Regions from separate parts of the Homo sapiens genome. Here regions 2 and 3 are each linked to region 1. The links are contacts of gene promoters, found by promoter capture Hi-C in blood cells and fetal thymus (Javierre and others, 2016). All regions are on one chromosome and are shown on one strand. Each heading gives the region's core, a stretch centred on a gene start or on the middle of the fragment in contact. The rest is flanking DNA. Distances are from core to core; before and after follow the strand shown. Region 1 holds the start of SLC25A28-DT (SLC25A28 divergent transcript). Region 2 holds the start of ARHGAP19 (Rho GTPase activating protein 19). Region 3 holds the start of MMS19 (MMS19 cytosolic iron-sulfur assembly component).

Region 1 (3,515 bases), core at 617-3,116:
TCAATGGCTAGAGAAGTGTAAGCGACTGAGATGTCTAAAAGGTAGAGTGGTTTCTGAAGCTAGTAAAAAGTGCCAATGTGGTGTGGCGGCAAGTGTTATCTCTGTTAAGAAAAACGGGAATAGGAAAAAGACCGATGGATTTGGAAAGGTCATTTATGACCAATGAATAAAAGAGTGAAAAATGTAAAGAGCTTAAGGAGAGAAAGGACATAGAGGTGGATAGGTCATTAGTGGAGTAATCTGGCAGTAAAGGGAATTAGTACTCTAGCAGGATTGAATGGGTTTTTGTGAGACCTATTCATTTCTCAAGCTAAATATGCTAGAGAAAAGGAGAGACTGAACATGCTGTGGGGGAGAAGTTCCTTTTAAAAAAATTTTTTTGAGACAAAGTCTTGCTTTGTCACCCAGGCTGGAGTGTAGTGGCATGAACACGGCTCACTGCAGCTTCGACCTCCCTGGCGCAAGCAATCCTCCCCCAAGTAGCTGAGACTACAGGTGCACACCACCATACCCAGCTAATTTTTGAATTTTTGTACTTTTTTGTATTTATTATTTTGTAGAGACGGGGTTTTGCCATGTTGTCCAGGCTGGTCTCGAACTCCTGAGCTCAATAAATCGTCCCACCTCGGCCTTCACAGTGTTGGGGTCACAGGCATGAGCCACTGCGCCGGCCAGGGAGAGGTTAACCAGGTTAATGGACCCCTAGGGTGTCCACATGGCACCTTCAGGGACTCTGAAACGCAGAAATGATATGCAAAATTTTGAGTGCACACAGGGGATGGGAGGTGGAAGTAGGAGAAGAGAATTCGTAGTTTTATTATTTTCCAAACGGTCGCGACCTAAAGGTTAATAACAACTGCTGAAGAGAGTAGAAAAAGTTTTTAAAAAGGAAGCCCAGAGAAGAGCTAAACTTTAGAAAGAAAAAAGGAAAACATCTTTCCTATCCAAGGAAAACCTATGAACAGATGGAGAAGTCCACAGTTGCATCATCTGGGTAAAACAGAGAAGACAGAGCTGGAAACCGCGGGCAGCTTGTGCCAACACGCTCGGGGAAGGCAAATGGAAGAAGACGCCCGTGCTCCCTAGAGCAGGAGGTCCTAAGGCCGGGAATCGCTGGCCTTGCCTCTCAGGACCCGGGCTGACCCGAGGGAGGGAGAAGCCCTCATCGCCAGGCGGGGGACCCATCAGCGCGCCGGCTCAGGGACAAAATACTGATGCTTCAGACTCGGCCAGGCCGTGCGTCCGAGCTTCCCCACAGCCGCCGCACTTCCCTGCTGCCTTTGGGATGCGGCCTCCAGCCCCGCCTCGCCACCGGCCGTCATCTGTGAATCATCCCGCCCATTTCGACATCTTCCTCCCCCGCCTTCGGCTCTTGGCCTGGCGCAGAGCCCAGTGACAGCCGGGGCCCGGGGAACCTCATTCATTCAACACTTGTTGGGTTTACTCTGCGAATGTGGATGCGAGGCTCAGTGCCGGGCGCTGGGGCCTGAGGAGCACCGAGTCCGGCCAGAGGGCCCAATACTCCAGACCCGACCAGAGTCTAGCGGGCCGCCGCGGTCCCCCCTGGAGGTGAGGCGGTTCCCAGCCCGCATGTCGCAACGGCTTCCCGGACAGGCTGCGGGTCGCGCCAGCCAGGGATGACCGGCCCAGGCCGGCCCCGCCTCACGCCCGCGACGAGATCCCGCGGGAACACGGCTCTCCGGGGCCAGGGCCGCCCGCTCTCCAGCCACGCGTCTCAGAATTTGAGGAGCGCACGGGAGCGCGGGTCGTAACGGCGCCCGTCAGCAGTTTGACGTTGAAGGCCTGTCGCCGCCCCGCCCCCGACGCGATCCCGCGCACAGGGACCGCAGCTCTGCAGGCGCTAGTGAGGGGCCCGAAGTCGGCCCCTAGAGTCCCTGGGCGCGTCGCTCTTTCTGTAGCCAATCGGGGACCGACGTGGTGCGGGCCAATGGCCGCGGTCAAAGTATCAAGAGTGGTTGAGCCTATCAAAGTTCAGCCTTAAGTTTCTCCCGCCCTTCTAAAAGTCAGAGGCGGGTTGATCGCACATGTCGGCCAATCAGTGACCAATAAACAAGAAGCTTCTAAGATCAAAGGGGAAAAGGTGGGATGTAGGCGCTAGCAACGCCTCAGGGCGGAGGAATGACAGGCGACTTCGCTAATACTACCGGCTGATTTTTCGTACGTAAGGAAAGGGGTGGGTCTAACTTGGCGTCTCCACCAATGGTTGCTTGGGGGGCGTGTCCGCGGGGCCAAGCGGGAGCCGGAGGCCCCGGGCTCTCTGGGCCGCGCCTGAGGCGGACACTACGGGGCCGGGGGGCGGCGGCGGCAGTGGTGGCAGCGGCGGCGGGGGTGGGCGCCGCAGCTGGCCCGGGTGGATGGAGTTGGAGGGGCGGGGTGCTGGCGGTGTGGCGGGGGGGCCGGCGGCAGGGCCCGGGCGGAGCCCCGGGGAGTCGGCGCTGCTGGACGGGTGGCTGCAGCGGGGCGTGGGCCGGGGGGCCGGCGGCGGGGAGGCCGGGGCCTGCAGGCCCCCGGTACGACAAGATCCGGACTCCGGCCCGGACTACGAGGCGCTGCCGGCTGGAGCCACTGTCACCACGCACATGGTGGCAGGCGCCGTGGCAGGGATCCTGGAGCACTGCGTGATGTACCCCATCGACTGCGTCAAGGTGAGACCTGCACCCGGCTTCGAACCCGACCTGGGGCTGACCCGACCCCTGGGTCTTGTCCGGAGCCAGGATCCCGGCTGAGAGCCGGAGCCGACATGGGTTCCTTCCTGGCTCCTGCCACTACCACATGATTCGAACCGACACTCCATTCAAGCAAGGTCCCAGCTGGGAGTTGATCCCAGTCAGGAACCAGGACCTATTTCTAACCGTCAGTGAAATCTGAATCGGGACTCAGGATCGAAAATCTGTCAGCCAAAGCCCTGGACCCCACCTGGGACTAAACAGGAATAGGGTGGGATGGGGTATCCCGAAGCTCAGGTAAGTGCTACTAACTCGATTAAGGTGAAGCCAACTGGCGTGAACCAGACCCTGAAATGGATCTAACGGCTTGAGATGTTTTCTGGGCTAGTGCTTTTACAAACTCCTTGCTGTATCTTCCCTTACTGACGGGGCAGGAACCCGAATCTGGGATCTCTCAGCTAGATAAAGGACTTACATGTTAAATCTTAACACATGAGTGATTGGAAATCATTGTGCAGTGAGAATGCAGAATTCCAGACTGGAAGTAATGTGGGAAAGATCGTATTCAGGAATAGGTTTCAGTTTCTCTGTGAAGCAAGCATGATACCCCACCTATTTCCTGAACATGAAAATTGAGCTGGGATTAGGACTGTATGTTCAGGGAGCACATCAGCCTCCAAACAAGAGAGATGAAACTGATAGCATATTTCTTTGGCCACCTGAAGTTGGCAAAAAGGGAGAAGTTGCCTAGAAAGGAAGTGTGACGGTATTAGAAAGTAGATGTAAGTATGAAGAAAATGGAAAGAGATCAACAAGAGGACACGATTC
Region 2 (3,515 bases), core at 568-3,067, 2.3 Mb after region 1:
TGTAGGCCACTGTGCCTAGCCCTTATCAAACTTTTAGTATTAATTCATCAATTGAAAAAAATCTATTAGAGTATATGATTTGATTTTTTATTTGGATATAATAGTTTGAGGACTTGCTTATATTTTTCAAAAATATTTATTGGACAGCCATTATGTGCCAGAAACTGTGGGGAGCAAAATAAATATAGTCTCTGCCCACTTGTGGCAGGAAGCCTAGCTGGGAACCCTCACATGAAATAAATAGTCACACAAATGACTATGTAATTGTGAGTTGTGATATGAACTGTGAAAGAATAGTACAGAGTTCTTTGTGAAAGTTTACTGAGGGAATTGATTTATACAATGGGGGTCATGGAAGATCTTTGAGCCAGTGACATTTAAGCTTCGACCTGAAAGCCAAAAAAGTGGAAAAATGGACGAGCCAGAAAAAGCAACATGTGCAAAAGCCCTAAGACAGTTCAGAAAGTGAAGCATGTGCAGTACAGTTTAGTAAAAAGGAGGCAGAGTGCAGGGAGAGCCCCAGGTGGCAGGATATCAGAAGGATCAATACAGAAATTCCCGAGAAAAGTCCAGCATAGGAAAACAATATGGAAAAACAAAAAACAACAATGCTCAAAATTTACAATGTTCTCACATATGTTGCCTCAGTTAATCCCTAGGAGAAGTGTGTGCCGCAGGGAGGACAAGGATAATTATGGTTATTCCTACCATTGAGGATTAAAGTTTAGTTTGGGACAAAGTCATGCAGCTTTTGGTTCCATGGTTCATATCACAAGGCAAACTCTGTGGGTTCTCTGGGAAGTTGGAAGGGAGTGAATGTATTGAAGCAGAAATGACCGACTCCAGCCTGGCCAACAGGGTGAAACCCCATCTCTACAAAAAGTACAAAAATTTGCCCTGTGTGTTGGTATGCTGCAATATTGTACTGTGCTCCAGCATGGGAGACAGAGGGAGACCTTATCTCAAAAAAAAAAAAAAAAGAAAGAAATAAAGGAAGAAAGAAATGACCTATGGCTAGGGCTATGCTGAGTATCTGAAGAAAGAAGGCTTTGAACTATACGTTTAAAAGCAAGTACTTCTAGGTTGCCACTCCCTGCCTGCACTTGAGGGATTTATCTCTGGGTCAAGACAGAGAACGAGTCTTGCATTAAATTACATTAAATTAAATGAATTAATTTATGGCTGGGTGCAGTGCCTCATGCCTGTAATCCCAGCACTTTGGGAGGCTGACATAGGAGGATTGCTTGAGCTCAGGGGTTCGAGACCAGCCTGGGCAACATGGTGAAACCCTGTCTCAACAGAAAAAAAAAATTAAAAAAATTGTAAAAAAAAATTATTTATTTTCAACTTTTATTTTAAATTTAGGGGGTACATGAGTTGGTTTGTTATCTGGGTATATTGTGTGATGCTGAGATATAGGGTACGGAGTCTTGCATTTTAGAAAGTGATGAGTCACTTTCAAAGTTGACAGTTCTATAATTCCCTGATTTACATATCAGGACAAAATTTGAGCATAGGCTGGTGATTTCTGACTTGAACCTAAAGGTCTGTGGAATCGGAAGGGTTCATCAAAATGAGAAACTACAACTCCCGGCAGGCCTCGGGGCTGGGTCTTCTTCCCCGCCCCTCCCTCTTTTTCCGCCAGGGCTGGGAACGACCAATGACGGTTAGTCATTTGAATAGACCAATAATATATTAAACGGTTCAGGTTGAGGAGGGGCGGTCGAGTCATCCAATCGCACGGAAGAGGTGAAAACATATTAGCCAATCCAAATATGTGGGGGCGGGACGTAAGGTGGGGCGGTGAAAGAAGTTTGCTGACGAAGATGGCGACTGAGGCACAGAGTGAAGGGGAGGTGCCAGCCCGCGAATCCGGCCGGAGGTGAGCTGAGTTTGGTCCAGTTTCCTGGGAAACGCGGCCTTGGGCTGGTAGTCCTGCCGCCTTTGCCTTGGGTCACGGAGGCGCACGGTTCGGGCTTTGTTTCTTTCTCCCACGGCGTTTCTCATCGTCGCGCCTGCGGGGGCTGAGGCGCGGGGGTCGGGCCTGGGCGCTGGACTCCAGCCAAACCCCCCGCTCGGTCCTGCCGGTGCCCGAGGGGGCTCCTCCCGCTGCGCTGGCTGCAGACGTCCAGCTGGGGGTGGCAGCGCTGATCGCTTTGGCGCCGAGACACCTCTTGATGGCGAGGAAACGGAAGTCCAGGGCTGGTTAGCGAATTCCTCACTGTTGCACACAGCGCTTCACATCTTCTCCGAGGCACTTTGTGCGTTCAGGTCCGAGCAAGGATTTGAGTGTCAATTAGAAACAGTGTTGAGTCCTTGGGCCAGTTTTTAAACCTCTCTCGACTTCAGTTTCTTCATCTGCAAAGGGACGTGAGGATGCCTATTTCCAAGTGTCAAGATTGAATAAGACAATCCATTTAAAGCTAGCACTGAGTTTAGCCGATAATGACAACTCTACGCAATAGATTTTCTTCTTCCTAGTAGAACAGCTAAGGAGCAGATGGGAGAGGGATCTGTAGTCCAGGACATCATGACTTTATTTCCACAGGATGTTCTTTCCTAAACAGCCACACCGAGATTTAGCGTTTTCAGGAGAGAATTTCGAGGTGGTGTTGCCTTAGCCTTGAGACCTAAGTTGTCTTAATTGATTACAATTTTGTTTTTGGTGTAATTCAATAGATTGAGTTTATTTACGTTGCCTCAGTGTAACTCAGTAAAATACTTCGGTTTGGCGTCTTTTGGTTCCATTTGTACCGAATAAGAGATTCCAAGAATCTTGGGAAACTAATAACTTTGTGACTCGGCTTCTTCCTGAGCCCAGATGAGCGTGGTTGAGTGTGTTATTTAAAATATCATACGGGGCCGGGCATGGTGGCTTACGCCTGTAATCCCAGCACTTTGGGAAGCCGAGGGGAGCGGATCACCTGAGATCAGGAGTTCGAGACCAGCCTGGCGAACATGATGAAAGCCCGTCTCTACTAAAAATACAATAATTAGCCGGGTGTGGTGGCGGGCGCCTGTAGTCCCAGCTACTCAGGAGGTTGAGGCGGAGGTTGCAGTGAGCCCAGATGCGCCATTGCATTCCACCCTGGGTGACAGAGCAAGACTATGTCTCAAATAAATAAATAAAATAAAATATGATATGGAAGAGTTTTCCACTCTTTTTTGTTTTGTTTTGTTTTTGTTTTGCAGTTGCAAGATTTCATAGAGTGAAATAGAGTGAAAACACAGCTCCCACACAAAGGGAGGGGACCCAAAGTGGGTGGCCGTTGCTGGCTCTAATGCCTGGGTTTATATCCTGATCCTTGTCCCTCCCGCTGTGCTCTCAGGCAAGAGATGATTGGCTATTTCTTTACCTCCTGTTTTTGCCTAATTAGCATTTTAGTGAGCTCTCTGATTGGTTGGGTGTGAGCTAAGTTGCAAGCCCCGTGTTTAAAGGTGGATGCGGTCACATTCCCAGCTAGGCTCAGGGATTCTTAGTTGGCCTAGGAAATCCAGCTAGTCCTGTCTCTCAG
Region 3 (3,515 bases), core at 558-3,057, 2.1 Mb after region 1:
GGGGTGGGAGAGGAGGCTGAGTTCTAGCCCCAGGTGAGCTCCTAACTAGCTGTGTGACTTTGGACAAGGTGTTCAACCTCTCAGGATCTGGGCTTTGACACAGAGTAGGAGATGGGTCCATCTGGAATCCAGACAAGTTTGAGCTCTCAAGTCTACGATATTATTCCCAGCGGGTCCTTGCAACACCCTCAAAGAAGGAAGTGAGTGTAAGACCCAGAAAAATGACCGACAGACCTCTTCCCGGGGCGAAATGCCAGGGCAGGCGGGGTGTACCATGAAAGTGAGAAAGCGTTGCGCGGGCCTGGAGGATCACCAGCGAGCGATCTCACTCCCAAAGCTGGGAAGGATCCCAACAATCCCAAGGGTGACTCTCACCCCGCACCCCATCTTTTATAGACTCCCAGACGGCCGAGAGGCTCTAAAAACCCCTGCGGGAAAAATAAAGATTTCTTTCCCAGAGTCCTGCGCTGCTTTGCAAGTCGGATTCCCGCAGACACGATCTGCAGCTCGATAATGACACAGTCTTTGGAAGGAGCGACTGTTCTCGCCTCGCTCGCTCCGAGTTCTGGGGACGCCTGGCTGCCCGCGCCGTGCCCCGACGGGCCGGCGTCCGACCCCGGCCGGAGCTGCCAGGCCAGCGGCGCCCTCGCCCCCGGCCTCCTCCCGATCCGTCGGCCCCGCTGCGGTCTGCAAACATTTCCTGCCCCCACCCCCACCAGGAGCTACCCAGTTGGAGAGAGTTGGTCGCGCAGCCGGCTCAGTGCTCGCAGTTGCCCCAACTCAGCTCCCCCGGCCGCCCGGCGCTGGGGAGCGGCCCCCTCTGGCTGCGGAGCAGCCCATCGGGGAAACCCAAGCGCCAGCACCAGTGGGGAGTCCATCGGTAAGCCCAGGACTCGGGCGAGGAGGGGGACAACTGGCGGGATGCCCGAGGCCCTGCTCCCTTCCCCATCGTTACCTGCTCGCTTGCGGGGGTGTCCCGGGGCTGCCGGCCTCTCCCGGCGCTGTCTCCCCACGCAGTTGCCCATGCTGGCTCCTCAGCCAGTCCCCATGCACCGGAGGCGGCGGGGTGGTCGGCTGCTCAGCGGACGGCGGCGTCCCGGGTCAATGGCTCCGGCCGCCCGGCATCGGGCGCTCCCCGATCTCCCCCCGGGGGCGCGCTCAGCCCCAGCGATGGCTCCGCCAAAACTTTGCGGGCCAGGGGAGAGAGGGAAGTGGCAGACTCCCCAGCACGGTCCCAGGTGGCCGGGCCAGGGGGGCCCGCGACGGTGCCCGGCCGGAGACCAGCTCCGCTGGAGGGGCGGAGAGAGGGGGCGGGCACCGCCGCAGCTACTCCCGGCTCGCTCGGGGCACCAGGCAGGGGCCGGCCCCCTGGAGCCTGTCACTCACCTGCCTAACCCCGCCCCAGGCCGGCCCCTCTCCCTTCCGCCGGCTCGCGGTGCCCGCGCCGCCGCCACCACCCGCCCCAGGTGCGCATGTGACCGACAGCACCGCCCCCTAGGGCTGGGCCTGATTTTCTCATTGGCTTCCCCCGTGGTGCGTACCGCCCCTCTCCCCACCCAGCCAGGTGCCCGCCCCGCAGCCCGTCTCCCGGGGAGCCGGGCTGGGAATTATTCGCCCTCAATCGCCTCCGGCTGCGTGCCCAGCAGCCGCCTTCCCTCTCGGTGCCACCGCCCCATTTCAGGCCCCGCCCCTCCCTGGAACTGCCTAGGCAGAAGCCGGCAGGCACGTGACCCCGGCGCCCCGCCCCCTTGCGCTTCCCCGGAGATTGGCTCGGGAGGCGCATGCGCGGAGAGCCCGTCTCGAGCCACCGCCCATATCCCCTCCCACGGTCTCTAGTTCGCGTTATGGCCGCTGCCGCGGCTGTGGAGGCGGCGGCGCCTATGGGTGCCCTATGGGGCCTCGTGCACGACTTCGTCGTGGGTCAGCAAGAGGGCCCCGCTGACCAGGTGGCTGCAGGTACGGCAGACGGCGCCGCGCGCCTTCCGCATGGGGGCCAACAGGAGGGAGCGGCCTCAGTACAGGCGCCGGGCGGGAAGGGAGGAGCGGGGTGACTTTGAGAGATTGGTCTCAAGGCTGGTTAGTGAGCACCGCGAGGTTCAGAGCCGTAACAAGTTAGAGAGTTGCCTGTGTCTTCCTTAAAACCATTTACACTTCTCATCTCCCTGTAGCCAATTATAGGGAATCATTACATTTTACAGATGAGGAAACTGAGGCTCAGCGAGGGCAAGAGGACTTGCGCAGGGCTGCAGACCAGGCAGGAGGGGGAGGTGGGACTCGGACCCAGGCGTTCAGGTCCGAACCGGGTGCTCACGCCACGAAGCCATGCTGTTTGTGGGAGGTTGACGTGTGGAGGTGCATCCTCGCAGCGTCCGCTCCCGTCGCGTGGCATCCTGGGAGTGGCAGATGGCCCCGCGCTCTGACTGGCTGGAATTAAGAGGAGTTGAGGAGACGGGCCAGGAGGAGCTGGAGATGTTCTGGGTGTCCTCCTTAAGACTTTCTCTCCGTTTCTTGCTAAAGTTCTTGATTAGTTTGCTCCATGACGTTTTATGTGGCGTTTGTTTTTGTCTTCTTCCCAGACCCCCACTTTCCTGCTTTTGACCAGTTCAGAGATCTCTTAGTTCAGACAGCTTATCTAAAATTAGAATAAAACGATTTCCAGGCTTCCGTGGAGTTCTGAGACTTTGCTCTTCTAGGAAAAAAAAAAAACTACTAAAAAGTTATTGAATGTTAGGAGGCCTTCAGATCTTGGGTTTAAGTAACAATATAAAATTATCTAATGAGTAGTTTTTTTAAAAAAACTTTGGAAATTTCGTATGCTTGGAGAGAAGTAAGGACACATTTCTCTTGGATATTGAGCGTATTAACCTTTAGAATATGTAAGAAAAGAATAGTGAATCTGCTAGAAATATAATACTTTGTTCGTTAGCAGTATTCCACTTTAATTCAATCATGCCACTATTGTTGAATACATATTATTCCCCAAACATGATGCAAAGCAATAGGAATATAAATACAAATTAGGTTAGATCTGTGCCCACCAGGAACTTATAGTATGCTGGGAGAGGCAACCATTCTGTAAGAGGTGTGTGCAGCGTAGTTTGGAAGCATCAAGGAGCAAATACCTGGTGCTGCCACCAAACTTAACATCTTACAATTTTATGAAATGTAGTGTGTTATCAGTGTTTACAATTTACAAGTACAGTGTCTTACCAATGTCATTTTCCCTCATATTTTATTATGAAAATTTTCGAATATCCAGCCAAGTATAAAGAATTTTATAAGGAGCACATCACTTAGGATCTATCCTACCATTAACATTTTAATATTACTTGCTTTATCATATAGCTATCCATCCATTTAAATTGCAGATACCTGTACACTTTCCTTTAAATACTTTGGCATGCATGTCATTGACTAGAGTTTGTTGACGGTTTATTTTGATGTAAAATGGAATATATAAACCTTTAAGTGTACGTTCACTGATTTTGACTAATGCATACACCTATACAATCCAA

Evidence for each region. The method cuts DNA at HindIII sites, captures the fragments that hold promoters and counts their contacts. A CHiCAGO score of 5 or more calls a contact.
Region 2: the fragment with the promoter of ARHGAP19 here is called in contact with the fragment with the promoter of SLC25A28-DT in region 1 in 2 of 17 cell types (non-activated CD4 T cells and total CD4 T cells); the score reaches 6.4 in non-activated CD4 T cells.
Region 3: the fragment with the promoter of MMS19 here is called in contact with the fragment with the promoter of SLC25A28-DT in region 1 in 2 of 17 cell types (fetal thymus and total CD4 T cells); the score reaches 8.0 in fetal thymus.

The regions. Positions count from the first base shown.
Region 1 is chr10:99,619,196-99,622,710 of GRCh38, reverse strand. It overlaps SLC25A28-DT (SLC25A28 divergent transcript), which reads right to left and starts at 1,866. Exons shown (of 1, transcript NR_186534.1): 1 at 793-1,866. It overlaps SLC25A28 (solute carrier family 25 member 28), which reads left to right and starts at 2,272. Exons shown (of 4, transcript NM_031212.4): 1 at 2,272-2,666. The coding sequence starts at 2,376. RefSeq lists enhancers at 716-1,297, 1,298-1,880, 2,464-3,046 and silencers at 1,532-1,691, 2,422-2,581. The HindIII fragment of the contact is 4,603 bases long and covers 1-2,080 here.
Region 2 is chr10:97,290,939-97,294,453 of GRCh38, reverse strand. ARHGAP19 (Rho GTPase activating protein 19) reads left to right here and starts at 1,817. Exons shown (of 12, transcript NM_032900.6): 1 at 1,817-1,882. The coding sequence starts at 1,827. ARHGAP19-SLIT1 (ARHGAP19-SLIT1 readthrough (NMD candidate)) reads left to right here and starts at 1,781. Exons shown (of 15, transcript NR_037909.1): 1 at 1,781-1,882. RefSeq lists a silencer at 2,096-2,145 and enhancers at 1,490-2,246, 2,247-3,005. The HindIII fragment of the contact is 8,887 bases long and covers 385-3,515 here.
Region 3 is chr10:97,496,714-97,500,228 of GRCh38, reverse strand. MMS19 (MMS19 cytosolic iron-sulfur assembly component) reads left to right here and starts at 1,807. Exons shown (of 31, transcript NM_022362.5): 1 at 1,807-1,956. The coding sequence starts at 1,845. It overlaps UBTD1 (ubiquitin domain containing 1), which reads right to left and starts at 1,305. Exons shown (of 3, transcript NM_024954.5): 1 at 956-1,305. The coding sequence starts at 1,025. RefSeq lists silencers at 686-885, 896-1,655 and enhancers at 1,896-2,065, 2,426-2,475, 2,152-2,682. The HindIII fragment of the contact is 10,400 bases long and covers 1-3,515 here.